Regions from separate parts of the Homo sapiens genome. Here region 1 is linked to region 2. Evidence: promoter capture Hi-C in human tissues and cell types (Jung and others, 2019). All regions are on one chromosome and are shown on one strand. The core of a region is centred on a gene start or on the middle of the fragment in contact, and the rest is flanking DNA. Distances in the headings are between cores, read along the strand shown. Region 1 overlaps PHF21A (PHD finger protein 21A). Region 2 holds the start of CREB3L1 (cAMP responsive element binding protein 3 like 1).

Region 1 (3,137 bases), core at 599-3,098, 190 kb before region 2:
TTTAAAATGTATCTATCGTGTGTAATTGAGGTGGTCTAGTAATGGAACACATGTCCAGCTTTACAATGAAAATCATCTTCTTTCAAGCTTGCCAGTCATCTCTTTGACTATACATATAATGGCATGTGGAGATAATGTCAAAAGTCTAAATCTGTTAATATGACACCCAGCTTGACCTTCCTATCTCCCTCAGTCATCACTGCTCTAATTTAAATTATTTCGATGGCTAATTTATCCTTTATTGTTGTTTTCTTTTCTTGAATGTGGCCTTAGACATGATTTTAGGTACTCTGTCAAAGCAAAAGTCTGTTTTTGCCTGAATAAATTTAAATTTTACTTCAAATTTCTTTTCTTCTTTGCACCTATAAAGCTTGTAGCTAGAGCAGCTTTTTAGCATTCATATAAATTGGGGAATGGAACAATCAGGAAGTTAGAGGAACCACTACTCCTTAAACCAATACAATAAGATTCATGATCTTCATATTTCTAAATATTATTTACCTATGGGTACAGTCTATATTCAACCTAAGTTTTCTAAGAGTCCTTTGAAAACTGGTTTAACAGAGTTATAATGGAATCATTAACTAGGGAGTATATTCTTGTGAATATGAGTTTTCAATATATTTGCTTATTCTCATTAGGCATAAAACATCAGCAGAAATCTCTCTCTCAGGGCTTATATACTAGATTATATAACATCAAAATACTCAAACCTAAAAAAGAATAAATTCCAAAAGTGCAAAATTCCTTTAAATTCACATTTGCAAAGGATAGGAAAAATTTACTGTATAATGATAATGTTAAACAAAACATTTTAAAAGGCAGTATATTTAAGGGAGTTATTAACAATTTAGAAAGGGAGACATACTATGGTGAACAAATCTGGGTAGTTTTAGCTACTATCTTTTTTTTTTTTTGAGAAAGAGTCTCGCTCTGTCGCCCAGGCTGGAGTGCAGTGGCACGATCTCAGCTCACTGCAAGCTCCGCCTCCCAGGTTCATGCCATTCTCCTGCCTCAGCCTCCTGAGTAGCTGGGACTACAGGTGCCCGCCACTACACCCGGCTAATTTTTTTGTATTTTTAGTAGAGACGGGGTTTCACCGTGTTAGCCAGGATGGTCTTGATCTCCTGACCTCGTGATCCGCCCGTCCTGGCCTCCCAAAGTGCTGGGATTACAGGCATGAGCCACCGCACCCAGCCAGCTATTATCTTTTAAAATATTTGGAATGATAACCAATCAATCAATAAATATCAGAATCATTAAGTCACTAAGACCAAGATTTTTGTTATCATGTAAGCTTACTCTACCTGCAATACTAAAGTTAAAACTACACAGCCACTTTAATTTTAAATAACAAAATAATCTCCCTACTCAAATTCCTGATTATGTATTACAGTTCTTCTTGAAAACAACACTTGGTTTTAATTTTTACAAGGCTCTACCAGAAAATGTGTCCAAAATGATTCCTTATAATTTTTGTCAAGAATCACTTTGAAGTTGAAGGTGTATTTTTCAAATATTCGTACTTCATTCTACTGACAGTAACATAAAACCATAGTTCAATTCAATTCACATAAACTCTGGAAATGAACGGCAGGTTAAAACACAAAGAACTTAACATTATACATAACAAAGGGCTAATACAGTTTATATATTTAGGGCCCTCAAAAATTGATAACAAAAATCTATGAAAAAACAATTTACAGAAGAAATAAGAATGACCAACAAACATGAAAAACTTCCATCTTTTAAGACACAGAAATATAACTAAGATTATATGCTTTGTCTATCAAACTGAAGACCTATAAGATAATAATACTCTGAGCTGTCTAGAATTTGTGTCAGGTGCCACTTCGCAATTTGCTGATGGTTATCTCTAGGTAGTAGCACTGTCAGTTATTTACTTTCTTCTTTTTGGGGTATTGATATTTTCAAAATTTTCCATAAAAAATATGCACATCTTTTTAAACAAGAAGACATTAACCAAGGATTTGTAGATAAAGCATCAGAAAACATTATACTATCAAACAAAATGCTCAGGAAAAGAAAAAGTTAAAACCAGGGTTTAACTTGAAGACTGTAAATGTCAAAGAGTGCCTCGCACAATAATAAGCCTGCAACTCAAGTTAATGAGGAGCCGATGGCTTTTACTTTCTCCATCAGATTGTTGTCTGCTTCTCAGAGATACACAAAGGCATGAAGTTTTATTCAGCAAGGACTCTAAATGCCAATTACTCATTTTATTTCAAAATAAAACTAAAAGGGTTAAAAAAGTTAGGACTAGTTGTAGAAAAACATATGAAGGATTAGAAGATTCATTTGAAATTCTTTTTCTTTTCTTCAGAAAGATCTCTTTCTGGATAGTAATTTTAAGAGACTGGTCTGTGCGGAAAGAAACAAATTACAGACATGTATTTATAGTTTACAAAAACAAGGCAGGTACATGTTGAATCTTGTTTGTTTAATTTTATTTTTTCTTGTAGAGAAGGGGTCTCATATGTTGCCCAGGCTGGTCACGAATACATGCTGAATATTTTGAAAAAATTTTTTTCCTGAGATAGGGTCTTACTGTGTCACCCAGGCTAAAGTGCAGTGGTGCGATCACGGCTCACTGCAGCCTCAACTTGCTGGGCTCAAGTGATCCTCCTGCCTTAGCATCTTGAGTAGCTGTGACTACAGGTGTGCCCCACCATACCTGGCTAATTTTTGTATTTTTTTGTAGTGACAGGGTTTCGCCATGTTGCCTAGGCTGGTCTTGAGCTCCTGGGCTAAAGTGACCCATCCACCTTCAGCCTCCCAAAGTGTGGGATTACAGGTGTGAGCCACTGCACCCAGCTGAAAAAATATTTTGAGGTCTTGGACATCTCATGCAGTCATCTGAATACCACTGGGAGGCAGTTTATAGCATCAAAAGAATTATTGGCTACATTTGTAAAAGATGATTTAACATATTTTGACCAATTCTAACAAGTTATAAATAACAAATCAGTTGCTGCAAAGTGAATACCATCAGACTCACAAGACAGTAACACACTGCATTCCACCATAATGAGTGACTCTCACCATCCAACAGCTCTACAAGTCACTATCAGCAAGGCCACTTGCCTAGCCCAAAATATTAGCATTTGCAATCTTCC
Region 2 (2,901 bases), core at 136-2,635:
ATGGCTTAGCTGCAATGACATCTCTACCTCTTAAAGGCCTTTGGTTCCTGAGCTAATTAAACGTCCCAGACAGAAAGGACATGCTTAATCTTATTAATAACTTCTGGTCAGGAAACAGTGTGCCCAGCCCTCTGAGGGAGTGCCTTTCTGAACCACCTCCATTTGTTCAGGTGCTTGGCGATTGCTATCAGCCCTTTCAAGAGATTAAGTTTGTACGCAGGAGCAAGCCACTTAGGTAATGGATCCCGGGGCCCTGGGAGTGTCTGGTGACTGTGGAGTGTGCAGCCAGCCAGCACCTTGGCTCATTCAGATTCCAGAACCACTGTTTTCCAACTTCCTGCTCTTCAGAACCATTGGGGGGTAGGGAGGGACTTGACTATCGAGGAGAAGAGGGGGACTCTCCTATCTCTGGCTGTTCACCCAGCCCTTTCACACAGAGGGAAGCTGGGGACTGTCCTTGCCCTGAGGAGCCTCACAGCTCAGTGGGGTCACAGATACAAACAATGTGAGCAAATAAGGACAATACCACATTAGACTGGAAACAGTGGAGGTGAGCACATGATGCCCTGTGGGTGTATACCGTTGGTAACTGCTCCAGCCTGGGGGTTCAGGGAAGGCTTCCTGGAAGAAGAAACAGGTGAGATGAGAAATGAGAGTTACAAGCTGAAAATCGGCTGGGCATGGTGGCTCACACCTGTAATCCCAGCACTTTGGGAGGCCAAGGAGGCCGGATCACCTGAGGTTAGGAGTTCCAGAGGAGCCTGGCCAACATGGTGAAACCCCGTCCCTACTAAAAATACAAAAATTAGCTGGGCGTGGTGGGGCGCGCCTGTAATTCCAGGTGCTCAGGAGGCTGAGGCAGGAGAATCGTTTGAAACTGGGAGGCGGAGGTTGCAGTGAGCCGAGAACACACCATTGCACCCCAGCCCGGGCAAAAAGAGCGAAACTCCGTGTCAAAAAAATAGTAATAATAATAAATAAAATTTTTAAAAAGCTGAAAATCTCCCCCGTTGAGGGGAGATCTGTTGAGGGGACTGTGAAATGGAATTCCCTGACTGGGTTTCGTGCAGGCTTTAGTATAAGGCTGGAAGGATGGAAATAGCTCCCTCATCAATTTACGGGACAGTGGTTGGTGAAGCCTTAAAATGCCAATGTTCCAGGAACACTGTTATCGGTTCCAGGACTATTGTTGCTTTAAGCCCCCACCTTGAGCATTCAGAGAAGAGAGATTACTAAGACGAAGTTGCAGATGTCTCTTTAAAAAAGGAGAGAGGATTCCTCGAGCCACGCCCTCTTCTCATTAATATTAAATTATTGTGAATATTGATGTGGGGGCGTGGCGCCTTGGCCAGCTGGGCTAGCCAGCCAGGGGTTCCCGGTTTCACAGAGAGGAAAGTGACAGAAGACGTGCGGAGGGAGACGCAGAGACAGAGGAGAGGCCGGCAGCCACCCAGTCTCGGGGGAGCACTTAGCTCCCCCGCCCCGGCTCCCACCCTGTCCGGGGGGCTCCTGAAGCCCTCAGCCCCAACCCCGGGCTCCCCATGGAAGCCAGCTGTGCCCCAGGAGGAGCAGGAGGAGGTGGAGTCGGCTGAATGCCCACGGTGCGCCCGGGGCCCCTGAGCCCATCCCGCTCCTAGCCGCTGCCCTAAGGCCCCCGCGCGCCCCGCGCCCCCCACCCGGGGCCGCGCCGCCTCCGTCCGCCCCTCCCCCGGGGCTTCGCCCCGGACCTGCCCCCCGCCCGTTTGCCAGCGCTCAGGCAGGAGCTCTGGACTGGGCGCGCCGCCGCCCTGGAGTGAGGGAAGCCCAGTGGAAGGGGGTCCCGGGAGCCGGCTGCGATGGACGCCGTCTTGGAACCCTTCCCGGCCGACAGGCTGTTCCCCGGATCCAGCTTCCTGGACTTGGGGGATCTGAACGAGTCGGACTTCCTCAACAATGCGGTAAGATGAAGGGTCTCCGTTCCCGTTCCACCCCTCGGCACCCGTCCTCGCGGCGCGCCTGGGCCCCTAGAAGGACCCGACTACACATCACTGGGCAGGAGCCGGGGAGAGGGTTCAGCGCAGGGTCTCCAGGAGCGACATGTGTTTGGAGCTAAGCGCCCCTCCTGGGGGCTCAATCTTTGAATACACTGGCCTCCACCTTCTAGGGGGAAGGGGCCATCGAGGTATCGGGTCCGTCCGATCCTCGGATCTGAGCTCAAGAGACACCAATCCCGCCCTCCACCCACGTCTTCTAGCCGTCCCCAACCCACCCCAGGTTCCAGGACCAGACTGGGCGCAAAGTGGCAGCGCCCTTTCCTGCGCCTCCCTTGGGGCTTCGGTGGCTCATAGGCTGGATCTCCGCTGGGGGGCGCACCGGGGAACGTTCAGAGGGCCTGAGACCCGACCCCTCGGGGAAGCCAGGCCCAGAAATTTCAGGGTGCTACCCTGGCAGCCCCAGGGAATCAGGCCCAGAGACCCCCCACCCCAGGGAGGGACCTGAGGCTGGGGGCTGGGAAGAGGCGGTCAGGGCAACATAGGGTGATGGCTCAGGAGGAGGGAGCCATTTCTCTCCATCTGCCTCTAGATCTCTGCTCTGTCCCTCTGTTCCTGGAGTCTGGCTGACTTTCTCCCTCTCCCTATGTCTTCTTGACTAGGTCCGACTGTGAGCTTGTCTTTCTCCTCTTTCTCACTCTTCCCCTCCCTCCCTAAGGAAACGTGGCTTCTCTCTCTTCTTCCCTCCCTCCCTCTCTCAGGCTCAGCCCTAAGGCCTTGATGGGGGAGGGGCACGGACTTAGAATGGGAGAAAATATTTGGGTTCAGAAGGGCCTGCCCAGATGAAATGTGGATTGTTTGGGGAGTCTAGTGGGAGCCCCCTCTTCAGTGAACCACCAGTTGCGTGTGCATGCCTGTTCACACGCCACAC

Evidence for each region. Contacts are between HindIII fragments. The study calls those that stand out against the background at their distance.
Region 1: a fragment that was not itself captured here is called in contact with the fragment with the promoter of CREB3L1 in region 2 in 2 of the 25 tissues and cell types used here (dorsolateral prefrontal cortex and hippocampus).

Annotation. Positions count from the first base shown.
Region 1 is chr11:46,085,220-46,088,356 of GRCh38, forward strand. The region is part of intron 3 of PHF21A (PHD finger protein 21A); the gene reads right to left. Among named protein-coding and RNA genes, the nearest start is that of PHF21A, 35 kb to the right of the region's middle. The HindIII fragment of the contact is 3,241 bases long and covers 229-3,137 here.
Region 2 is chr11:46,276,277-46,279,177 of GRCh38, forward strand. It overlaps CREB3L1 (cAMP responsive element binding protein 3 like 1), which reads left to right and starts at 1,386. Exons shown (of 12, transcript NM_052854.4): 1 at 1,386-1,937. The coding sequence starts at 1,836. The HindIII fragment of the contact is 8,009 bases long and covers 1-2,901 here.